Linked DNA regions of Homo sapiens: all the other regions are linked to region 2. The links are contacts of gene promoters, found by promoter capture Hi-C in blood cells and fetal thymus (Javierre and others, 2016). All regions are on one chromosome and are shown on one strand. The core of a region is centred on a gene start or on the middle of the fragment in contact, and the rest is flanking DNA. Distances in the headings are between cores, read along the strand shown.

Region 1 (5,103 bases), core at 2,384-4,883, 240 kb after region 2:
TGGGACTGCAGGTCTGTACTATCATGCCTCAACCTCCAACAGTGCTAGGATTACAGGCATGAGCCACCGACCGGCCTCTCCTGTACTTTAATCTCCATTGTGTTCGGTGCTTTCCTGGACCCTTCCCATTCTCTCCCAAAACTTCCAACAACAACCTCTAAAAAAACAATAAACAAGACAAATGCCACTGTTGAAGGTGTAAATGTCCAAGGGGTTCACCTTGCCTGCTGCCTATACAGAGCCAATTCCTCAAGACAGGGGAGCCGGGCATGGTGGCTCACCCCTGTAATCCCAGCATTTTGGGAGGCCGAGGCGGGTAGATCACAAGGTCAGCAGATCAAGACCATCCTGTCAAGACCATCCTGGCTAACACGGTGAAACCCCTTCTCTACTAAAATTACAAAAAAATTAGCCAGGTGTGGTGGCAGGCGCCTGTAGTCCCAGCTACTTGGGAGGCTGAGGCAGGAGAATGGAGTGAACCCGGGAGGCGGAGGTTGCAGTGAGCCGAGATCGCACCACTGCACTCCAGCCTGGGCAACACAGCAAGACTCCGCCTCAAAAAAAAAAAAAAAAAAAAAAAAAAGAGGGGAATTGCAACAGACAAAAGAGTAATTCACACAGAGCCAGCTGTGCGGGAGACCAGCGTTGTTTTATTACTCAAATCATTCTCCCTTAGCATTCGGGGAGCAGAGTTTTTAAGGACAACATGGTAGATGTGGGGAAGCCAGTGAGCCGGGACTGCTGATTGGTCAGAGATGAAATCATAGGGAGCCAAAGCTGTCCTCCTGACCAAATCAGTTCCTAGATGGGGGGGCCACAAGATCAGATGAGCCAGTTTATCAATCTAGGTAGTGCCAGCTGATTCATGATGTGCAGGGTCTGCAAAATATCTCAAGCACTGATCTTAGGAGCAGTTTAGAGACAGTCAGAATCTTGTAGCCTCCAGCTGCATGACTCCCAAACCATAATTTCTAATCTTGTGGCTAATGTTAGTCCTACAAATGCAATCTACTCCCTAGGCAAGAAGGAAGACTGCTTTGGGAAAGGGCTGTTATCATCTTTGTTTTAAACTGTATACTAAGTTTTTCCCAAAGTTAGTTGACCCTCCGCCCAAGAATGAAAAGGACAGTTTGGAGATTAGAAGCAAGATGGAGTCAATTAAATTAGATCTCTTTCGCCGTCTTGGTCATAATTTTGCAAAGGCAGTTTCAAAGGTGTCTTTTCTTTTTGAGACAGGGTCTCACTGTCATCTAGGCTGGAGTGCAGCAGCATGATCATGGCTCACTGCAGCCTTAGCCTGCCAGGCTCAAGGGATCCTCTCACCTCACCCTCCCAAATAGCTGAGATCACAGAAGCACACCACCATGCCCAGCTAATTTTTTATTTTTTGTAGAGATGGTGTGGGGCGGCGGGGGGGGGGGAGGTCTTACCATGTGACCTAGGCTGGTCTTAAACTCCTGAGCTCAAGTGGTCTTCTTGGCTCAACTTCTCAAAGTGCTAGGATTATAGATGTGAACCGCCATGCCCAGCCTGTTGAAGGTTTCTTTTACTCTCTGGTTTTGACTGGCACCTGGCTTTCCCCAGAAAGAGCTCACTTCCCCTGTGGCTCTCTCTCTAGTGGTTGGTATTGATTCTTCTCTGCCACCACCTTCTGTGGGGCTACATGCTTTCACTAATGCAATGCCTCTTCTAGACCACAATTCCACCAGTCTCATGTAAAAACATGCCTTTTGAAGCTCAGTATATATATCACCCTCTACTACTATTCTTTGCTATAAATTTCTAACCCTTCTCATCACTCTTCTCCATAATCTTTAATTTGGCACCTGGTTCACAGGCCTCTTTTCCACTCTACTCCATTCCCTAACAGATCCATCTATTGAGATACCTATTAGTCATTCATGAGTATAAAATTGTTGCATGTATGTGTGCTTCTGTTTGACCATCCCAGATCCACTCTCTACCCTTATCTCTGTGTCTCAAAGGGTGACCTTTATGGACTGCGTCAATGTCCTTTGCTTCTAACCTTCTACTGAGTTTGTTTAATAGGAGTTTCTAGCAGGAGATCAAAGAAAGTGAGAAGGGTGAGATTTCTTCCCCCAGCTCTTTCTCTAACAGGTCATGTAGATTAGCAGGGTTCCTCTATCAAAGGCCACTATTCCTGTTGGAAGGCTCACCTAACAAAGGTTGAGCATCCCTAATGTGAAAATCCAAAATCCAAAATGTTCCAAAATCTGAAACATTCTAAGCACTGACACAATGCTACAAGTGGAAAATTCCACACCTGACCTCATGTGATGGGTTGCAGTAAAAACTTTGTTTCATACACAAAAAAAAATTTTAAATAGTATATAAACTTACCTTCAGGTTATGTGTATATGGTGTATCTGAAATATAAATGAAGTTTGCGTTTGGACTTGGGTCTACCCCCAAGATATCTTATTACGTATATGCAAATATTCCAAAATCCTAAAAAATCTGAAATCTGAAACACTTCTGGTCCCAATCATCTCAGACGAGAAATACTGAATCAGTATAGCTACTCTCTAGGTCTGGTAAGTACTCCCTCCCTCTCCCCCTTTAGACCCAGGAGTGGAACAGTTCCCATCTGTTGATAGCCCCAGGGAGTGTTACCATTCCTGTTGGTTTTCCTTGATGCTGCCCACACCTTTGTATATATTGCCTTTGTTAAATTTTCTCCAGGTATCCTGTTTGAATGTGCCCTTTGTTTCCTGCTAGGAAAGGTAAAGGCTGGAGATTCAGATCTGGGAATCAACAGCCCAGGACTGAATTTAAAGCCATGAAAGCTTAAATGACATAACCTAGGGACTGAGTTTCAATAGAGAAAAGAGACATGGATGCACCTGGAATAATTCATTCTGTAGATGTGGGCCCTGAAACTAAAAGGTATCACTCTCAAGAGATTTCAGAGCAGAGGTGGACTGAATCTAAGTAAAACGGCAAACTAGCCCTGACCCAGTTCAACTCTATTTTTTTTCTTCGCTCTCCTCTCTTTCCTTTCCCTCTCCCTCCTCACTCACCACCTACACACGGCACCCACTCCTCACCAGAGCCTCTCGATTCCCCCAGCTCAATTCTTGATTCCTTTGAGGTGATTTTCTCCTCACCTAATATAACTAACAGAGGATAGATTCTTTTTTCTCTGGGGAACAAAGAATACCAACCCAGACACTATACTCCTTGTATTCACAATGTTGAGCATACAAAACTTTATACGTGTGTGTGTGTGTGCACGCGCGTGTACAGTGCAAAGAAGCAGGAAAATAAGACTAAGAATCAGGAGGAAAAGCAAACAATTAAAGCATGCCCACCAATGACCCAGATATTCAAGTCAGTAGGCTAGGACTTTAAGAATATTATTATATGGTGGCTGGCAATATGGCCGAATAGGAACAGCCCTGGTCTGCAGCTCCCAGTGAGATCAACACAGAAAGTGAGTGATTTCTGCATTTCCACCTGAGGTACCCAGCTCATCTCACTGGAACTGGTTAGACAGTGGGTGCAGCCCACGGAGGACGAGCTGAAGCAATGTAGGGCGTCGCCTCACTCGGGAAGCACAAGGGGTCAGGGAAGCCGTGAGGGACTGTGCCATGAGGAATGGTGCATTCTGGCACAGATACTATGCTTTTCTCACGGTCTTCACAACCTGCAGACCAGGAGATTCTCTCAGATGCCTACACCACCAGGGCCCTGGGTTTCAAGCACAAAACTGGATGGCCATTTGGGTAGACACCGAGCTAGCTGCAGGAGTTTTTTTTCATACCCCAGTGGTGCCTGGAATGCCAGCAAGACAGAAACTTTCACTCCCCTGGAAAGGGGGCTGAAGCCAGGGAGCCAAGTGGTCTAGCTCAGCAGATTCCATCCCCATGGAGCCCAGCAAGCTGATATCGACTGGCTTGAAATTCTTGCTGCCAGCACAGCAGTCTGAAGTCAACCTGGGATGCTGGAGCTTGGTGAGGGGAGGGGCATCTGCCATTACTGAGGCTTGAGTAGGAGGTTTTCCCCTCACAGTGTAAACAAAGCCACTGGGAAGTTCGAAGTGGGCAGAGCCCATCACAGCTCAGCAAAGCCCCTGTAGCCAGACTGCCTCTCTAGATTCCTTCTCTCTGGGCAGGGCATCCCTGAAAGAAAGGCAGCAGCCAGCAGCCCCAGTCAGGGGATTATAGAAAAAAGTCCCATCTCCCTGTGATAGAGCACCTGGGAGAAGGGGCGGCTGTGGGCACAGCTTCAGCAGACTTAAACATTCCTGCCTGCCAGCTCTGAAGGGACCAGCAGATCTCCCAGCAAAGCACTTGTGCTCTGCTAAGGGACAGACTGCCTCCTCAAGTGAGTTCCTTAACCCCGTGCCTCCTGACTGGGAGACACCTCCCAGCAGGAATCAACAGATACCTCATACAGGAGAGCTCTGGCTGGCATCTGACGGGCGCCTCTCTGGGATGAAGCTTCCAGAGGAAGGAAGAGGCAGCAATCTTTGCTGCTCTGCAGCCTCCACTGGTGATACCCAGGCAAACAGGATCTGGAGTAGACCTCCAGCAAACTCCAGCAGACCTGCAGCAGAGGGGCCTGACTGTTAGAAGGAAAACTAACAAACAGAAAGGAATAGCATCAACATCAACAAAAAGGACGTCCACACAAAAACCCCATCTGAAGGTCACCAACATCAAAGACCAAAGGTAGATAAATCCATGAAAAGGAGGAAAAACCATCACGAAAAGGCTGAAAATTCCAAAAATCAGAGTGCCTCTTCTCCAAAGGATCACAACTCCTCGCCTGCAAGAGAACAAAACTGGACAGAGAATTGAGTTTGACGAATTGACAGAAGTAGACTTCAGAAGGTGGGTAATAACAAACTCCTTTGAGCTAAAGGAGCATGTTCCAACCCAATGCAAGGAAGCTAAGAACCTTGAAAAAAGGTTAGAAGAATTGCTAACTAGAATAACCAGTTTAGAGAAGGACATAAATGACCTGATGGAGCTGAAAAACACAGCATGAGAACTTTGTGACGCATACACAAGTATCAATAGCCGAATCAATCAAGCAGAAGAAACAATATCAGAGACTGAAGATCAACTTCATGAAATA
Region 2 (5,245 bases), core at 29-2,528:
TAAATGGGATATCATCTTTACTCTTGCCATAATGCTAAGACGCAAATATTTGAATTCTGAATTGCAGGCCAGAGGAAGCAGAAACTTCCCTATGGAGAGAGATGGCGGAGTTTGCCATTGAGTTCTCTCTCCTTGCTTAAAAGATCCAAGCTGTGCTTTTTGAAGGCTTCAGACTGCAGCCTGAGTTCATCGTAGGCCTTCTGGATCCCATCTACTTTGCGCTGAAGCTCCCTGACTCTCAAGTTGCTGTCCACAGCCACTGCCTCTTGCTCAAACCGCTCCAGCGCATGCTTCCTGTCTTCATTTGCTATCTCCAACTTTTCCTCAAGCTGGCAGATCTCTGCCTGTTTGTTCTGAAGCACTTTGCCCCTTTCAATGGACAGCTGCAGCAACTCCTCTTTCTCTCTAGTGACGGTCTGCAGCCTGGCCTGCAGCTCCTGGCTCAGGCTGCTGTGTGTCTCCTCTGCCTTAGCTATCTGCTCCACAGCCTGCTGGTGCTGCTGCTTGAGGGTCTGCAGCTGGCTGCGCAGCTGTTCTGTCTCCTTGGTGTGGGTGCAGGCCTGCTGGCTCTGTAGCTCCAGCAGCTCCTTCTCGCGCGCCTGTGCCTGGCAGGCATCCTGAGCACACCTCTCCTTCAGCGTTTCTAGCTCCCCAGTGAGGGCCTCACACCGGACTGTGAGCTGTAATACTTTCGCCTCCTCATCCTTCAGAGCCTGGCTGAAGAGGCTGCTATTCTCCAGCCTCAGCTTCTCATTCTCCTCCCTCAGCTTGATGTTCTCACTCTTGTATTCATCCTTGAAGCGGAGCATCAACTCGTGGTTGGCTGCTAGGGTCATAAAGCGTTCCTCTAGTTTCCGACTGTACTCACCCTGGGCCTTGAGCTTCTCAGCCTCCTGCATCATCTTCTCCTCCAGCTCTGCATTGAGCAGCTCTAGGATCTGGCAGCGCTCCAGGGCCTCATCTGACCTCCGCTTCAGGATGCAGATGAGCTGGGACTGCTCTTCAATGCGGGAGCGAAGCATAGCCTTCTCGCTCCTCTCCTCCTCTGACAGTCCCCGGAGGTTTGCCAAGGCTTCCCTCAGACCGTCCAGTTCCTTAAACTCCGTCTCCTCTTCCTGGTTGTTCAGTTTTTCATTTTGCTTCTCTAAGCGTTCTTCAGGGGGCGGGGTGTCCATCCTGGGAGCCTGCTGTTTCTGGAGCATAGGCGCTCTCATCCACTAAGGGCTGACTACAGTCTTTTCCCCTCAGATTTCAAACGCTGCAGGGTGTTGCTAGGGACTCTTGGCACTCCCCAGCAGTTGGTTTTTCCAGTAAGGAGCCCTGTAATTGGTGGACAGGTCTTCAGAATGCTATGAAGTAACAACAGGGGAATCTGGGGGAGTCCAGAGCCAATCTGGTCGGGTTACTTTTGCCTTTCTAACCAATCACAGCTCTCAGTTGTCAACTGTCTCAGTGTCTGGCCTGTACAGCACAGAGATGCCAACCCCACTCAATCTCCAGCCAGCATCAGGGGAGGAAGCCTGACTCCACCTAATTTCTGGTAGTAGTAAACAAATGAAGCAGGCAATGATATATTTATCCTCCCTCTCCCCTCTTCAGTTATCGTTTGAATAAATTACTGTTTGTGGAAACATGGTTGGCTCCTCAAAAAATTTCAGTCTATGAATACAAAGTAGTAGTGGTATTCTGAGAGCCAGGACCCTAAAAGCCTGCATATCTGCACCCGTGATGTTTGGCACAGCTCCCTTTTGGTATTTAAGTATTAAAATAGAAAACACCAGTGAAATTTCTTTTGTTGTTCTTAGCATTGTCCCCACCTGGGCATAAATACTCTTTATTAGATATTTAACACCCCCTGTTTTTACCCATTAGCAAAATAAGGTTACAGAAAGAAGCTTAGTGAACCACACAGATAAACATTAAAACAGAAAAAATAAGATTCAAATGAAGCTTGCCATTATATGCCAAAGTCAACTCCTGATAGATTAGTTAAATGTAAACAGAAACTAGAAGAAAATGAAGGTAAACATCAAATCTCTGGGGCTAGGAAGGATTTTTTTTTTATCTTAAACATTATGTAAGATCAGAAAGGGAAAGCTTACTCAAAAAGTTATGTATAATTTTTTAAATTATGTGACTTCTGAGGTCTCTCCAGCCCCTTCTTCCACTGGATTTTCTTGACATTTTACTCCTCAAACCCAAATATTGAAGCCAAACCCAAATCCACTAACCAGCTCTCTCGCCCTATCTTTAGGTGTTCCTCTACTTGGAATGCCTTTCCTACTTTGTCCCTTGTCACTCTAGTAAAGCTTTTTATTCTTAGTTAAGAATCGTCTCTGAAGCCTATTCCTGGCCCCTACATGTCCAATTGGTCACTCACATCTTTTAGTGCATCCGCTATAGCTATTTGTACTTCTGGTGGAGGATGTGAAAATTTTATTGCAGTCACTGTTTATCTGCCAGCTTCCCTCTGTTAGACTGTAAGATCCTTAAGGGCAGGGACTGTGTCTATTTCATCCTTGATGATTAGACTAGTGCCTGGCACATGGGGGAGATTCAGATAAATGTGTATTAAGTGGATGTTGAAGGTAAAAATCAAATTGAGAAAAATATCCCTAATATGACAGACACTACTTTTTTTTTTTTTTTTTTTTTTTTTTTGAGACAGAGTCTCCCTCCATCGCCCAGGCTGGAGTGCAGTGGTACGATCTCGATTCACTGCAACCTCCGCCTCCCGGGCTCAAGCAATTCTCCTGCCTCAGTCTCCTGAGTAGCTGGGATTACAATTACATACAACCACACCTGGCTAATTTTTGTATTTTTAGTAGAGACGGAGTTTAACCATGTTGGTCAAGCTGGTCTTGAACTCCTGACCTTAAATGATCCACCCGCCTCAGCCTCCCAAAGTGCTGAGATTACAGGCATGAGCCATCGCACCCAGCCCAGACACTACCTTTTTTAAATAAATATTTTATACATATCAACGAAACATTAACATCTAAAAAATAAACAATTAAATTCACAAAAATGGCCAAGAACTGAACGTCTACAGTGATCCAATAAATACAAGTTAAAATTAGACATAATTTCGGCCGGGTGTGGTGGCTCACGCCTGTAATCCCAGCACTTTGGGAGGCCGAGGCAGGCGGATCACGAGGTCAGGACATTGAGACCATCCTGGCTAACACGGTGAAACTCCGTCTCTACCAAAAAAATACAAAAAATTAGCCAGGCGTGGTGGCAGGCGCCTGTAGTCCCAGCTACTCAGGAGGCTGAGGCAGGACAATGGCGTGAACCCGGGAGGCGGAGCTTGCAGTGAGCCGAGATCGCGCCACTGCACTCCAGCCTGGGCAACAAAGCGAGACTCCGTCTCAAAAAAAAAAAAAAAAAAAAAAAGATATAATTTCACGTATCAAATTAGTCAAAAAATTTTCTCTTAAGACAAGCCAGGACTAGAAAGGAGTATTGAAATAGGCACTCTCTTAAACTGTTGGTGAAAGTCAGTTGACAGTAGGTACTGAGAAATTAAGATATTTTTATGGCTTCCGAACTAGTAATTCTTCTGCGGAGATCTTTGCTTAGGAAATAATCTGAAAGAAAACATTTTGCTCAAAACTTTTCATTGTAGTGTGGTTTGTAACAACTAAAAGTTGGAAACCCAAGTTTTCAAAAAAAAAAGGGAATGGTTACAAAAATTATGATATATTCATACAAAAAATATTGTACAGCCACTAGAACTTATTACATTTATAGGTAATTTTTAATAGCATGGAAAAGTCTTATGTTAGAAATACAACTGAAAAAGGCAAAATACAAAACTTAAAATTCAGATGATTTCAATCCTGTGAAAATTAAGGGTAGGGAAAAGAGTTGACTATTCTTGTGGTCACAGTTTCTGGTGATCAGATTTACTATCTCCCAAGTCATGATGATAAGGAAAAACCCTGGGTGTCATTATAGATATGAGATGAATTTTTAAATGCTTCAGATTTCACTGGGAGCGAAACAAATCTGAAAGAAGAGTTTCAGGTTCTTCCCTCACTGTCAAAGATCAAGGTCTCATGTTTCAAATCCTGAATTTCTTGTCTATATATGGAAACCAAGATTGAAGACTGGGGAAATTTCCTAAGCTGAAATTTTAACAACTACATAAACAGTAGGATATTGAAGTTTTGTGAAAGTGAATTCCAAAGACTTTAAAAATGTGAATTAAACTTATTTGTAATTTTCCCACATTTCTCTTGTCCTTTTCCTTAAATTTCAAGCTTCATATGCGTAAATGGAGTTCGTCTAGTTATTTTCAAGGCAAATGACTAGAAAATTAGAATGGTCCTCTTAAATAAAAGGGTCTTACAAACATTGAAAATTTTATTTGTTGATTATATGGTTGTCTGATATCATAAAGTGAATTCACAAAATATATTTCCTGAAAGGAGGAAAAGAATTCAGAAAAATACGGAAAAAAGATACATACACATTTGTTTTTTTACCAGTCAGGGTCTCTGTTGCCCAAGCTGGAGTGCAGTAGTGTCATCATAGCTCACTGCAGTCTTGAATTCCTGGGCTCAAGCAATCTTCCTGCCTCAGCCTCCCAAGCAGCTAGGACTACAGGCATGTACCACCATGTTCAGCTAAATTTTCCACATTTGAAAAAGCTTATATTTCTTTTTTGCAAATATATTTTAATACACATTTCTATTAAATTTATATTTACATTATTTAAAATAACACACATCTATAGATTACTTATCAAGACCAAGAATCTGATAAGATCCTAATCAATATTCATTCATTTATTCAGTAAACATTTGCAAGGTTATTTGCAATGCTAGGTGCTAAGAATATATTAATAAAATAAATACGATCACTGTCCTCAAATAACTTAGTTTAGTAATCACTTTGGTTCCTTTCTGCCGTGGTTGTCTTCTTTGCTCAATCATTTTTTTTCTAGCTCCCCTCCTAAAAGTATCCCATATATTCCCTTCCCAGAGATCCAAGGTGACCAATTCTCTCCCTTGTGGTGATCAATGAGTCGTCTCCACTTATCTTTAAGTCTTTCCATGCCTCCCTCCCTTTTAAAGCTACCATTTACAGAGCTCTTCTAGGTAGTGGGCATTTATTTGTACATCTCTCACTTAATTCTAATGATATTCTTGAAGGGTAGGCATTATTATCCACATTTTATCAATTACAGGTAACAAAGACACCAAGGTTGAGAGAGGTTAAGCAAATTATGCCACCCAGA
Region 3 (4,835 bases), core at 14-2,513, 200 kb after region 2:
TCCCACTACTACCAGTTTCTTATTTAGCAGTCAGAAATATTCTATGCATATATATATATATATATCACAAATAGCATGCTATAAATATGATGTCTTACTTGCTTTTCATGTAACAACATGAACATCCTTCTAAATCAGTATATCTTAATACTGCCTCATTCTTCCAGTGGTTGCATGGTTTTATTGTACCTTTTTTTTTTTTTTTTTCGAGACACGGTCTCACTCTGTCACCCAAGATGAAGTGCAATTGCATGAACACAGCTCACTGCAGCCTCAACCTCCCAGGCTCAAACAATCCTCCCATCTCAGTCTCCTGAGTAGCTGGGACAGCAGGTATGTGCCACCATACCTAGCTAATTTTATTTATTTTTTGTAGAGGTCTCACTGTGTTTCCCAGGCTGGTAACCATAATTTTTTGACCAGTTTCTTACACATAAGCATTAAGGTTGTTTCTAGTGTTTTAGTATTACAAATAATGCTGCAATGACTATCCTTACACATGTCTCATTTTCCTATGACAAATATTCTTGTATTTATGTCATTTCACTTATGTGTATCTCTGAAAGAAATGGTTGTGTGAAACAGACTATTTTACTGTGATAAATGTGGCCCTCCATAAAGGTTGTACCAAGTGGTACTTCTAACAGTATGCATGAGGATACCTATTTTCCCACATCTTCAGCAACAGGGGGTGGTATCCAAATTTTTGTTCTTTGTCAGTCTTATGGGTCGAAAATGGTATCTCATTGTAGTTTTAATTTCCATTTCTTTTATTAAAAGTGACACTGAATGTGTCTTTTCATAACTTCAAGAGCTATATGAATTTCCTTTTCCATAAACCATCTGTTCATATCTGTCACCCATTTTTCTAATGTGTTGTGGCACTCTTTACATTTTAAAAAAATTAGCTCTTTAACTGTGATATAAATTGCAAATATTTTTCCCATTTGTCATTAGTTTTTTTGTTTGTGGGTTTTTTAATGAAGAAATGATGTGCTTTTAAAGTGCCCAACTTATCAGTCTTTGATTTTACGTTTATGAGATTATGAATGAATTCTCCAATATTTTATTCTAAAATTTTTATGGTTTTGTTTTTATATTTAAGTCTTTGTTTTTGTGTGAGAGAGTGATCCAACTTTATTTTTTTACCAAATGGTTTTCCAGTTGTTCCAACATCATTTATCATCAATTTTTATCCTACTGATTTGAAGTGCTAACTTTATTATACTTTTATTTCTCATATATATCTGAATCTTATTCTCTACTATCTATTCTGATTCACTGATCTGCCTATGCATTTGTTAACCAGTAGAATACTTTTTAAAAAGTTATTGTTCTGGTACATTTTCAAAATTTCAAATATTTTAGCCAGTATTTATTTCACATTTTTAAAGTAGGAAAAGTGATCTTCTCATATAAACTTAACCCATTATCTTGATCAGAAGTTTGGATGATTGGGCCAGGCGTGGTGTCTCACGCCTGTAATACCAGCATTTTGGGGGGTCCACGGTGGATGGGTCACCTGAGCTCAGGGGTTCGAGACAAGCCTGAGCAACAGGGTGAAACCCCATCTCTACCAAAAATACAAAAGTTAGCTGGGTGTGGTGCCGCACACCTGCAGTTCCAGCTCCTGTGAGGCTTAGGTGGGAGGACGACCTGAGCCTAGTAGGCAGAGGTTGCAGTGAGCTAAGATTGCACCACTGCACTGTAGTCTAGGTGACAGAGAGAGACCTTGTCTTAAATTAATGAATTATTAACTAGGATGATTTCTTTGACTTAAAAATTTTCATGTGGTTGTATTCAACTTTGGGGTGGTAAAAACATTTATATATTGAATTACTTGCTGGTCAAGCCATGGGGCGCAGCCATAAGAAAATGGTTGTTATGGGCTTGTGTTATTTTCCATTAGTTTTAGGGACTTGTCTTAACCATCCAGGTAGCAGCAGCCACTCCACCAGGGGAACTATTAGAACATGTTGGGGACCACTAACTGGACACAATGAATATGAGCAAGACTCCTAAATCAATCTATCTGAAGGCTTACTACCATCATCCCCTCTTTTTCTCCTACCTTCTACACAGGCTGCCTTCTTTCATGATTTTCCTGGAATTCTCCTCCAATGATTATGGGGTTTGCGTTAGTTAGGCTGCTTTACATGCAAGGAAGAGAGATCAAGTCAGGCTATTGTTGTGGGCTGGGAGGTTGCTGTAAGTGAAAGAGGATATTAAAACTTTTTAAAGTCTCAGTTTACGCTGAGGTGGCAAAATGAGATGAGATACCACCACATAGATTTGCAATTTGATGAAGAAGAAAACCAGTTTCGCACCTTTGATCATCGAATTCCAGTCTATACAAGAAGTTAGAGAGGCCAGGAAAAGGTTGTTAGAAATTAGGGGACAACTTTTGGAAAGAGCTTTTGGTGTGCTATCAGTCCTACTCTTTCCCCCACCGAGGAGCAGGTAAAAGGTAATTCCTCCTCCATCTCAAATCTGGGTGAAAGGTCTTCAGAGAGATTTCTCAGATGGTTCAGTATGTGTCCCCTGCAGTCTGGGCATTCAGGTCTAGTTTATGACTCATCCCTGAGAAATCTAGGGAGTAAGTGGCTGAGGAGCTAACCGCACTGACAGCAGAACACAGAAGAGGTGGCTGCTGCCCTGGGCTGGGCCTGCACTCCCGAGTTTGTCAGGGCAAAGAATGGAGGAGTGTTTCTTGTCAACTTGTTATGAGAGAGAGTTGGGGAACAGTCATGTGAAATCTTGCTGGAGACAGCTGACTAGGGTGTTGGGGGCCGGTGATAGGTCCCCAACAGAAAAACAGGGATTTTGTATGTGTGGGAGGGGAGTGCAGAATTGAAAACCAGGGACCAACAGAAAAGTTGTTACCAACTTCTAAGGACAGTACTTGCCCTGGATCAAGGGAATGCAGATGAAATCCCATTTGAAATGGGGAAGCTTGTCCTCCAAAGAACCTACTAAAACACTCCCATGAGACAATGTGTCAGCCTTAAATGCCAGCTAGGTCCAGAAAGTAGACATGAGCTTGAGACAGTATCAGTCAAGTGAGAGCTTTCTTACCGTTTTCCATGTTTCCCTCTTCCCTTCAGCACTGAGAGAGGAATCATGGAAGCTCAAGGCAAAGAAAATGGCAGCAGGCCCAAGTTAGGAAAGGGGATTGGCATAACTTTGAAAGAAGTTTAAATTGTTGCAATATTCTGAACATACTAATTACTCATTGGAGGACCTTTTGTTACCACAAAGAAACCAGAAGTCATAGGATTTACCATATATTTTATTGAGCAGAAGTCAATAGCCTCACAGTATGAGTTTTAAAGGAAAGAGACAAAAATTAAGTTGCTTGACTCCCCAAGAGTAATGCTTGTTGGGTGTAACACAAATGAGGAAAGGGAAGACTGAAGACAGAATGATATCAGCGGTGGTTCTAGGCATGGCTCCTCCCCACATTTCTCTCCCCTGATCTGTGACTGTCCCTCTCATTGGCACCTCTGCTTTGCTCTGCATACCTGTCCCCCTTCTCTTCTACTTCCCACAGAACAGTCCTTGCAGTATTCTCCAGCCCATTTCTAAAGACATCTGGTGCCATCATGCACCTTATCAAACATGACCAATGGCCTTTGTCCATACCACCTCATGGGTCACCAGTCAGCCCCAGCACAAACTGTTCCTCGGTCACCTGCCTTACTCAGCAGCCTCTGCTGAAACCCAGGGGGCGAGGAGGAGAAAACACTTAGAGCTGCTTCCCTGAACTTTAGCTAGAATGGGATATTGGGATACTAGTATAGAAAACAGTCACTAACATATCCAGGCCAAGGTTACTTCTCCTCAATAAAAGGAAAAGGAACCTTAGAATAAGCCCAGGAATGAGAAGGTGAGGGGTTATTACAAGTCATTAGATAATTACAGTCACAGAGCATTTTTATTTTTGTCCTTTACTGGGGCACAGGACAGGGATTCTTAAAAGTTCTTTGTACACTAACAGTGAATTTTTTTAAATTAGGTTCAAGACTCCGTACAAAAAAGTAACATTGTTTCTTTGAATGTTAATTTTCTTGCCTATAAAATCAGAGTCCCTAGGTGATCTCCAAGAGGACTCACATTTCCAGCATTTGCTTTTCCATGTCTTGTCTAATCCTTACAAGTTCCTTTGAGTTAGATATAATTAGGCCAGTTTAAAGATAAGAAAACAGGCCCAGGGAAGTTAATTGCCCTAACCAAAGTCACAATGCTAGTAACAAATGGAACAGGGATTTGAACCTAGGTGTGTTAGGCCCCAAATCCATCTGCTTCAAATAGTCCCCCTGAATCTGTGATTCAGTGAGTTGGGGCGGCTCTAAAAAGATTACTACCTGGCCAGTGTTTCTGCTAGCTCCTGTTCAGTTTTCTGCAAAAGGGACTAAGAAGAGGCCACTGCCACAGGAGAGGGTCAACACAATGGAGCTATGTGACCCCAGAAGTCAGAGAAGAGTATATAATAAAGCTCTCAACAGGCCAGGAGGAGTGAACCAAAGCAGAGCCAGACACAGCAGGGAAGGTGGAACAGTGCAAAGCAAACTTTAGCCAGTGCAGTGTGGGGTCAGCTTCTGGGAAGGGACGCCATTAGATGGGGTGTCTGAGAAGCAAGGAGTCTTCTGCACAGTCCTAATCTGCCAAGCTCCCCCTTGCAGTGTTTCGAGCTTTTACGAGGAGACTTTTACATGCCCCACTTTCTTTGGCTGCATTCACCAATAAATGGTTAATTGTTACCAGAAGCATCATCTGAATCACAGAGGCTAACAATGAGATTCTCACATTCACCCTTGTCCTGGGTACTGTGTTTT
Region 4 (5,151 bases), core at 1,889-4,388, 180 kb after region 2:
TAGGTCTTTGTTTAAGAGAGTTGTTGTTGTTTAAAGACAGAGTCTCACTCTGTCACCCAGGCTGGAGTGTAGTAGCCTGATTATAGCTCATTGCAGTATCAAACTCCTGGGCTCAAGTGTTCCTCCTGCCTCAGATTTCTGAGTAGCTGGGAAGACAGGCATACACCACCAGGCCCAGCTAATTTTTTAATTTTGGGTAGAGCTGGGTCTTAAACTCCTGGCCTCAAGCGATCCTCCTGCCTCAGCCTCCCAAAGTGCTGGGATTTCAGGCATGAGCCACCTCACCTGGCCAAGAAGGATTTTAGATTTTAAAATCTAAAAGAAGGATTTATTTTAAAAAATGTACCATAAAAGATGTATGTTGTCCTTAACAACATTCAGGGAAAATCTGTCTCCTTCTTTGGAGATCCCAATATATTCGTATGAACTTTTTAGGATTGAGTGAAGGGATCAGAACACCAAGAGAGAAGAGGCTTTCACCTGTTTCCTTTTATTTTCTACTTGAAATAACATTAACTAATAACTAGATACTATTCATACTCATTTCTCAACATAACTGAAAACTTTGTTCATCTCATCTTAGGAGAGGTGGACAAAAAGCCAAGCTCTGTGAATGTAACCTGGTCTCTAATTTGCTCCCATGGTGTAACTGGTGACATCCAGTTAACAGCTGTTTTTCTCTCTTTTGGGTGGACCAGAAACCAGTCTTTCTCCTCTTTAACAAAGGTTTACAAAAAGGCAAACGTTTAAAAATTCTCATGATCTAGTGCAAGTTATAAACTGAACATCTCATACCCTTGTTCTTTTGTATTTGGTAAAACTAAATAAATAATCTCATGGACTGGAACAGCCAAGGCCTTGCTGTACCATGCTCTACTGATGACAGTTTATGCATTCCATGTGTTCCTCGGTGACAGAACTGTTGTCACATGACACATAGCCAAGACATTTCCTCTCACCATCTGAGGAAGGATTGTCCAGGAGTTCCCTGGCGCCTCTTATATCTCTCTCAGCTCCTAACAAAGCAGTGAGCACATAGTAGATAGTTAATTCATGGTTTTTGAGCAACTGAACTTTTTTCAAATTTATCCCAAGAAAAGAAAGTCATGAACTTCTATGGTTGTTTGTGAAGAGCTGATACTACCAATGTTCAGTCTATAAAATTATCGTCTCTGAATAATGATGGTTTTTATTTTCTCCTTTATACTTGTCTTGCCCCCCGTTTTCTACAATAAGTATGGATATAGATATAGAAACGGGTGAGAATATGGTCGTGAGTGAAAAAATGGAGATTATGATATAGATTTTTTTGAAAGTCAAGTTTATTTGGATCAGTGATTTGTTTGTTTTTGAGACAAGAGTCTCACTCTGTCACCCAGGCTGGAGTGCAGTGGCATGATCTCGGCTCACTACAACCCCCGCCTCCTGGATTCAAGCAATTCTCCCACCTCAGCCTCCCCAGTAGCTGGAATTACAGGCATGTGCCACCACACCCAGCTAATTTTTTGTGTTTTTAGTAGAGATGGGGTTTTGCCATGTTGGCCAGGCTGGTCTTGAACTCCTGATCTTGGCCTCCTGCCTTGGCCTCCCAAAGTGCTGGGAGCCTCCCAAAGTGCTGGGATTACAGGTGTTAGCCATGTTTGTTTATTTTTATAGAGACAGGGTCTCCCTATGTTGACCAGGCTGGTCTCAAACTCCTGGGCTCAAGGGATCAGCCCACCTCAACCTCCTGAAATGTTAGGATTACAGGCGTGAGCCACTGCGCCCAGCCCAGATTTGTGTTTTTATATGAATAAGGCAGTTAGAATATTTGAGGTGAAGGAAAAAATATGGCAGGTCATGTGTGCTTCATTCTCCCTCAACAAACTGTGAGCTCCTTGAAGACTATTCTTTACTCATCTCTGTACCTCTAGTATCTAGCACAGCCTTATAGTATGAGCTCAGAGTTTCTTTGTTGAGTAAATGTTGTCGGATCTTGTCTGAAAGCAAAATCACACTCATGAAAACAAATACAATGTTATTTTTGCCTGTTGATACAGGAAACAAATTTTTTAACGTACTAACACTCAGTGATGAAATGCCCACCAATAAACAAGCTCTTTCTTACCCACTGGTGAGTATAAATTGTTCAAATATTCTGAAAACATTTGTAACAAAGCAATCCTGCCCTTTTATCAGGTAATTTCATGGATATAGGAACTCTTTCCCGGAACATAAGGTCATGAACTTCTATGGTTGTTTGTGAAGAACTGATACTAAATCTATAAACCAATACTAAATCTATAAAGTGATCATCTCTAAGTAACGGTAGTTTTTATTTTCTCCTTTATACTTGTTGTCTCCCAGTTTTCTACAATGAATATGGATAGAGATATAAAAACATGTGGGTATGGTTATAGGTTTAAAGAAAAAAACACAAAAATATAGTTTTTTTGGAATTCAAATTTATTTGTTTTCCTTCCCAGAATTTTCAATGAAATTGCATGGGTGGGGGGAACATTGACACATTACTAACATTTTAACAATATAGAGAGTGGGGGAAAGGTGACATATTGTCTTACTAACAATTTAATATCACTGTGCTTTAGAATAGTGCCATAACCTTTTCAAACTGCTTTAATGTATATTGCTTTATTATCACCCCACTTGCTTCAGCACCTAGTGTGACATGTCAGATTCTAGGGCACTGAGTAGATGGGGGAGATATTAAAAAGGAAAAAAGTGTATAAGGAACAATGATGCTTGAAGTCCCCATAATAGTGTTGAGTTCTGAAGTTAAGCTTCATCTGCTTCCTGGTAAAACACACCTTTTCATGAAGCCAGAGAAGGCTGAAGTGGCTTTCAAAGACAGGCTCAGCTAAATTAGACCCACAGCTACCATAAGCTCCACAAGCGGGCCAGTGAAGCTGCCAAAGCATTTAGGGCATCTCAGAATTCCCCACTGAGGCCTGCTGCTGCCACTCACATCATCCTGAACTGCTCACTCCACAAATGGACAAGAGACAAAGCCTGAGGCCATTTGCTCCTAAATGCTCTGAGGGAGGGGTGGTGGGCTTAAGTGTGGGGATGCCAGTTGTAGCAAATAGAAATAAACGATGCCCAATTAAATATGAGTTTCAGATAAACAGCAAATAATTTGCTTAGTATAAATATGACCCATGCAATGGGGCTGGGGCTGCACATGGTCTCCAGCCCAATCGTTGCATGCTCAGTCATCACCAAGGAAAGCTCTCAGCTGCAGCCAGGGAATTGGTCTATTAACGAGCCCATCTGTAGACTCAGTTTAACCAATGAAGACCACATCTTGAGATTCATTTGCCTGCTCTACCCATGTAAAGAAGTAGTATTAATAGATTTATAACTGCAGAAATTATGTCAGTAATTTGCACATTTGCATAGGTTCTTTTCAGATAATTTTCATTTATAATACTTTTTTTTTAATCTCCTGAAAAACGGGAGGTAGAAAAGGCACTCCTTCAAAATTTTTGCACAAATGTAAGCTTTAGGTAAGAAGTCAAAGATGAGCCAAGTGTCGTGGTGCACATCTGTAACCCCAGCTACTTGGGAGGCTGAGGCTGGAGGATTCCTTGAGCCCAGGAGTTCAAGCCCAGCCTGGGCAGCACAGAGCCTTATTTTCTTATTATTTTGTGGAGGCTGCCCTATCTACTATAGTAGTCCCCTCCATTTATGGTCCTTCTTATATCCTGTTATTTTCCCCATGGTATTTATCATAATGTGTAAACAATATGTTTCAATATGTTTATGTGTTTACTTCTTATTATCCAGTAAAAGGTACTCCTTGAAGGCAAGGATCATGAAGGTGTTGTTCAAAATTATCTCTGTAGGCCAGGCGCAGTGGCTCATGCCTATAATCCTAGCACTTCGGGAGGCTGAGGCAGGTGGATCACTTGAGACCAGGATTTCAAGACCAGCCTGGCCAACATGGTGAAACCTCGTCTCTGCAAAAAATTCAAAAATTAGCTGGGTGTGGTGGCGTGTGCCTGTAATCCCAGTTACTGGGGAGGCTGAGGTGGGACAAGCGCTTGAACCTGGGAGGGGGAGTTTGCAGTGAGCCGAGATCATGCTGCTGCACTCCAGCCTAGGTGACAGAGCAAGACTCTATTTCAAAAAAACAAACAAACAAACAAACAATCTCTATAATGCCTAAAACAATGCTGGGCACCTTTCAGCTCTTTAAATCTACATTGTATGTATGACTGTTTGAAAGGGAATATTGGTCCATTTAAATTGCAGAATTTTGTAACTGAAAAGGAAGCATAGAGTTCATCTCCATCAATCCTCTTATTTCTGGAGGTTAAATATCCTTAGAGAACTGGAAAACCAGCTCTAAAATTCAAGTTTCATAGTATCCAAACGAGCTTTTTTTTGACCAGTAAAGGATTTTTTTTTAATGTTGCATTTTCTCATTATTGGGAAAGAAAGAGCCTAGTTTTTCTCTCTAATGAGTATACAATGTCACAAATATAATTGATGTTTGGGGGAAAGGGCTAAGGATATAAGGTTTAATTCAACTGAAATTTACTAAGCATTTATTTTATGCTAGAAACATTCACATATGATTTCTTATTTTAATCCTTACGATAATATGCAGAGCTAGGTATTTTTATCCCATTTGACTGCTTGGACATTTAGGCCCAGGGAATTGACTTGCCTGAGATCATGTAGACAAGAAGTGATAAGGGCAAGACTTAAAACCAGAGTTTCTCATTCTTTAACTACTCTTCACTCTACTACAGAGGTACTATATTTCTGTTTTTGTTTTATTTTGTTTTTAATTGAGCCAAAGGGTTTAGGTAACACACTTCTGTTGCCTTATTTTGGTCTCAGATTTAAAGTTATAAGATTTATTAGGTTATAGTGATACAAGATATACTATAAAGTTTTAAAAATTATTTTATTTATTTACTTTAAGACTGCATCTCACTCTGTCACCCAGGCTGGAGTGCAGTGGCATGATCTTGGTTTGCTGCAACCTCCGCCTCCTGGGTTCAAGCGATTCTCATGCCTCAGCCTCCCGAGTAGCTAGAACTACAGGCATTCACCTCCACACCTGGCTAATTTTTGTATTTCTAGTAGGGACAGGGTTTTGCCATGTTGGCCAGCCTGGTCTGGAACTCCTGTCCTCAAGAG
Region 5 (5,188 bases), core at 393-2,892, 220 kb after region 2:
TTTTTATATGATTCTCAAATGTACATCTTCAGCACAAACTGATGTGTGTCCTCGTCTCTGGAACTACATTTTTTTTCCCTGCCAAATATTTTCACGTGGATGTCCCAAAGGCATTTCAAATTCAATGTACCTAAAGCAGGACTCATTAAGTTTCTCTTCAAAAATTTTCTCCTCCATTTCCTTTTTACCATCTGCCCAGACACTCAAGATAAAAATGTCACCGTCAGCTTCTACTCTTTCCTTTTTCTTGCTCCCTATTTGACTGAGTATAGTGAGTCTAGGAAACAAGGAATTTAAACATTCATATGGCTTCTATGATAACTGACAATTATCTTTAAATTGTCATTATTAAGTCATGGTGAATAGGAGTTCATACTATCTCCCCAAACTAACTAGGATGAATTCACAATTTTTAAAAAGGTATTAACAATTTTTAAGGCTGGGCATGTTGTTGGCTCATGCCTGTAATCCCAGCACTTTGGGAGGCTGAGGCAGGCAAATCACCTCAGGTCAAGAATTCGAGACCAGCCTGGCCAACATGGTAAAACCTCATCTCTACTAAAAATACAAAAATTAGCCAGGCGTGGGCCAGGCGCAGTGGCTCACACCTGTAATCTCAGCACTTTGGGAGGCTGAGGTGAGAGGATCACCTGAAGTCAAGAGTTCGAGACCAGCCTTACCAACATGGAGAAACCCCGTCTCTACTAAAAATACAAAATTAGCCGGGCGTGATGGTGCATGCCTGTAATCCCAGCTACTCGGGAGGCTGAGGCAGGAGAATTGCTTGAACCCAGGAGGCAAAGTTTGCAGTGAGCCGAGATTGCGCCATTGCACTCCAGCCTGGGCAACAAGAGTGAAACTCCGCCTCAAAAAAAAAAAAAAAAAATTAGCCAGGCGTGGTGGCATGCATCTGTAATCCCAGCTACATGGGAGGCTGAGGTAGGAGAATTGCTTGAACCCGGGAGGTGGAGGTTGCAGTGAGCAGAGATTGTGCTACTTTACTCCAGCCTGGGCAACAAGAGCCAGACTCAGACTCAAAAAAATAAAAAAAAAAAAGGTATTAACAATTTTAAAACCTCAAGGTGAGCTCAACAGTTAAAGAATATTAGGGAGGGCCAGGCGCAGTGGCTCATGCCTGTAATCCCAGCACTTTGGGAGGCCGAGGCAGGTGGATCACGAGGTCAGAAGATCGAGACCATCCTGGCTAACACGGTGAAACCCCGTCTCTATTAAAAACACAAAAAATTAGCCAGGCATGGTGGCGGGCTCCTGTAGTCCCAGCTACTCAGTAGGCTGAGGCAGGAGAATGTCGTGATCCCGGGAGGTGGAGCTTGCAGTGAGCTGAGATCCTGCCACTGCACTCCAGCCTGGGCGACAAGAGCATGACTCCGTCTCAAAAAAAAAAAAAAAAAAAAAAGAGTATTAGGGAGAAACTTACTTCTTATACATTTATTAAATACAAAGTATGATCCTAATCAAATAACTTAACAATTCTCTCTTTTTTTTTTTGAGACGGAGCCTCACTCTGTTGCCCAGGCTTGAGTGAAATGGCACAACCTTGGCTCACTGAAACCTCCACCTCCCAGGTTCAAGCGATTCTCCTGCCTCAGCCTCCCAAGTAGCTGGGATTACAGCTGCCCACCACCACACCTGGCTAATTTTTCTATTTTTTAGTAGAGGTGAGGTTTCATCATGTTGGTCAGGCTAGTCTCAAAGTCCCGACCTCAGGTGATCCACCAGCCTTAGCCTCCCCAAATGGTGGGATTACAGAAGTGAGCCACCTTGCCCAGCCTCAATTCACTTAATCTCATGAGATGTCATAAATCTTAGGTTTAGGGAAAATGACTACAAAAAATTTGCATTTGACTAATAAGAAGGGCTGTTTTCATGACTTGACTCTTCCTACTGAAGCCAGAAATTATGTTTCTGCTTCTCACAGTTCAATGGAAATAAATGACAGAAAAAAAAGTCTAAGTTTAATGGCATCAGGAACAAAAAGAGCTTTATAATAAAGAACAAATCACCTGGGCATGGTGGCTCCCACCTATACTACCAGCACTTCGGGAGCCAAAGGCAGGAGGATTGCTTGAGCCTAGGAGTTTGAGACAAACCTGGGCAATATAGTGAGACCACATCTCTACAAAAAAAAAATTTTTTTAAAGTAGCCAGGCATTGTGGCACACATCTGTGGTCCCAGCTACTTATGAGGCCGAGATAGGAGCATCACTTGAGCCTGGAAGGTTGAGGCTGTAGTAAGCCATGTTCAGGCCGTTATACTCCAGCCTGGGTGACAGAATGAGATCCTGTCTCAAAAAATTAAATTAAATTAAATTAAATTAAATTAAATAAATAACAAATCATTTTATGGAAATGTAATAGATTTAATTTCTCTTTGTTTTAATAAATATTCATTTTTAACATTATTAAGTTTACTTGCAAAAGTAATTAAAACTATTTCTGGTACCATCACAAGAATTGAAAATTGCCTGGAAATAGAACAATATATGTTAATTAATTTCTTTGGTGAAAGTTTAGAATGAGTAACAAAGGATATTTAATAATGGAACTAATGAAAATATTTCTCCATTTATCTCTCAGCAATAACCAAAAATATAAATCACTGGGAAGGCTACACAGCTGTTTTGTTACATGATTATCTTTTTTTGTTGTTGTTTTAATTTATAACTATTTTCTTTTTTTCATGTATTAGTTGTTATAAGTAACACTGCATGATTTCAATTATCTGGTTTTATTTAGCATGCTTATTAGAAAATGAAGGAAACTGGAATTTCCAAATGATTGAGATTAACAAATGGAAAGCTGGAGAAACTAGACAAAGGGAATCAAGGAAATTACCATCAGGATTTCAAGTATGAGGAGACATAAGGCTAACTTGGATCTTTCAGGAGAAAATTTCAAGAACATATATTTTAATCAGGATCCTAGGTCCCCAACTTAACGTTTTAACTAAATTATCTCTCCCAGTTTCTATGTATATTTCTTGGGCATTTTGCTGGGGGGCAGCTGAGGCAGGGAGGGAAATGTGGTCTTCCACTTCTTCCTCCTTTTTACTTTCTGACCCCAGAAATCCAAAGGTGTTTGTAGGGTTATGAAAAAGAAGTAGTTTTTATTCCCTAACATTTCAAAAGGCCGAGGGAGATAGCTATTGAGGAGCACATTACTATTCTAAAGGGATACGTGATGTCATAGGAGAGCCTTAGCCTCTAAGAGTGGATGCAACATCTCAAAAGGGCCCCCATTCCCAGCTTTCGAAAGAGACCAAGAACTGTGTGTGCTACCTCCCAAGCATGCCAGGCCCTTAGGTCAAACATCTCCCAAATGTTGCATTAATTCCTTCTGTTTACAGTGTCTAACTATAGTTTTTTTTCCTCATCCTTTGACATTTGAAAATCATAAATTTTCCTTAAGGCATTCAAGCTTGTAATCAAAATAATTATCTCTCAACATATGAGATCCTAAAACACCAAACCCTAGCTTTGTAATTTAGTAATCTGGACTTAAACGGTTTTACTAAATTGTTTGAGGCAGATAAATAATATATGCCTTTCTTTCTAACTTCAAGCCACCAGCAATATTTGAGCCTTTTCCATGGGACTGGTATTGCTTTATATTATAATTATTTGTGGTTTTAATCATTGGATTATAAGCTCTCTTGAGGGAAGGAGCCATGCCTTATTCACCCTTGCATCCTTCTACATCTAGCTCTGAACCTTGCCCATAATAAGAATTTATGGCTGGGCACCGTGGCTCACACCTATAATCCCAGGTGTGATGATGAAACCCCGTCTCTACTAAAGATGCAAAAAAAATAGCTGGGCATGGTGGCGGGCGCCCGTGGAAGGCACCCGTGGAGGCTGAGGCAGGAGAATCGCTTGAACCTGGGAGGTGGAGGCTGTGGTCAGCCAAGATCACGCCACTGCATTCCAACCTGGGCAACACAGCATAGACTAGATGATTAGATAGATAGATAGATAGATAGATAGATAGATAGATAGATAGATAGATAGATAGATAGACAGATAGAATTCATGGCCGGGTGGCTCATGCCTGTAATCCCAGCACTTCGGGAGGCCGAAGCAAGCAGCTTGCTTGAAGCCCAGGAGTTTGAGACCAACCTGACCAACATGATGAAACCCCGACTCTACAAAAAAAATACCAAAAAAAAAAAAAAAGATTAGCCAAGTGTTCTACTACTGCAGTTTCGCTACTCAGGAGGCTGAGGTGGAAGGATCACCTGAGCCTCAGGAGGTTGAAGCTAAAGTGAAGCTGAGATGGTACCACTGCACTCCAGTCTGGGTGACAGAGCAAGCCCTGTCTCATGTTTTTGGTTTTTTTGGTTTTTTGTTTGTTTGTTTTGAGACAGGGTCTCGCTCTGTCACCTGGGCTGAAGTGTCATGGTGCAGTCATAGCTCACTGTAACATTGAACTTCTGGGCTCAAGCAATCCTCCCGCCTCAGTCTCTCAAGTAGTGGGGACTACAGGTGCACACCACTACGCCCAGCTAATTTTTTATTTTTATTTTTGGTTTTTGTGTTATTTGCTAAGAATTCCTGCATTTAAGAAATGATCATGTGATAGAGATATGCATGTGGTAACATATTGAATGCTTTAAGATTCCTAAATACAATTAAATCTCAGTGACAAAGCAGAAAATGTTATCATCTCCTTCTAAGTACCCATCTCAGTTACACTCTTGGCAGCTTCTGACAAGAGATACTGAATCTAAACCCCTGTGCCTTTTTTCTTTCATCATATTCCCTCAAGACTTTTATTACTTCCTCCAGTTTATATCACCATTATTCTCACCAGCCTACCTCTTTCTATTTTATGCTCTTGCTTCTAATTCTCCTATTGCTCTGTTGTCTCCCCATGAGCACCTCCTGATCCAGCACCTGTGTAGCTCAGGCTGCTTTGGGTGGTGGAGAGGTGGGTTTGGATGTTCTATCTAGTAACATTCTTCTATATACTCTTCCCACTATCAAGCCCTCTTTGGACAAAAGTCATCAAAATACACTTTTTTTTTTTTTTTTTTTTTTTTTTTTTTTGAGACGGAGTCTCGCTCTGTTGCCCAGGCTGGAGTGCAGTGGCGTGATCTCAGCTCACTGTGACCTCCACTTCCCGGGTTCAAGTGATTCTCCTGCCTCAGCCTCCCGACAAAATACACTTC

The links. Contacts are between HindIII fragments. The CHiCAGO score rates a contact against its expected background, and 5 or more counts as called.
Region 1: a fragment that was not itself captured here is called in contact with the fragment with the promoter of CCDC89 in region 2 in 1 of 17 cell types (naive CD8 T cells); the score reaches 5.1 in naive CD8 T cells.
Region 3: a fragment that was not itself captured here is called in contact with the fragment with the promoter of CCDC89 in region 2 in 2 of 17 cell types (naive CD4 T cells and total CD8 T cells); the score reaches 6.6 in naive CD4 T cells.
Region 4: a fragment that was not itself captured here is called in contact with the fragment with the promoter of CCDC89 in region 2 in 6 of 17 cell types (naive CD4 T cells, total CD8 T cells, naive CD8 T cells and 3 more); the score reaches 13.7 in naive CD4 T cells.
Region 5: a fragment that was not itself captured here is called in contact with the fragment with the promoter of CCDC89 in region 2 in 4 of 17 cell types (naive CD8 T cells, naive CD4 T cells, total CD8 T cells and 1 more); the score reaches 7.0 in naive CD8 T cells.

What each region holds. Positions count from the first base shown.
Region 1 is chr11:85,920,945-85,926,047 of GRCh38, forward strand. No RefSeq gene overlaps it. Among named protein-coding and RNA genes, the nearest start is that of CCDC83, 68 kb to the left of the region's middle. The HindIII fragment of the contact is 1,656 bases long and covers 2,806-4,461 here.
Region 2 is chr11:85,684,917-85,690,161 of GRCh38, forward strand. It overlaps CCDC89 (coiled-coil domain containing 89), which reads right to left and starts at 1,279. Exons shown (of 1, transcript NM_152723.3): 1 at 1-1,279. The coding sequence starts at 1,214. The coding sequence ends at 90. RefSeq lists enhancers at 74-575, 576-1,075. The HindIII fragment of the contact is 2,434 bases long and covers 1-1,893 here.
Region 3 is chr11:85,887,613-85,892,447 of GRCh38, forward strand. All of the region lies in intron 5 of CCDC83 (coiled-coil domain containing 83), which reads left to right. Among named protein-coding and RNA genes, the nearest start is that of CCDC83, 35 kb to the left of the region's middle. The HindIII fragment of the contact is 3,373 bases long and covers 1-2,950 here.
Region 4 is chr11:85,867,041-85,872,191 of GRCh38, forward strand. All of the region lies in intron 2 of CCDC83 (coiled-coil domain containing 83), which reads left to right. Among named protein-coding and RNA genes, the nearest start is that of CCDC83, 14 kb to the left of the region's middle. The HindIII fragment of the contact is 720 bases long and covers 2,779-3,498 here.
Region 5 is chr11:85,904,575-85,909,762 of GRCh38, forward strand. The region is part of intron 7 of CCDC83 (coiled-coil domain containing 83); the gene reads left to right. Among named protein-coding and RNA genes, the nearest start is that of CCDC83, 52 kb to the left of the region's middle. The HindIII fragment of the contact is 3,588 bases long and covers 1-3,436 here.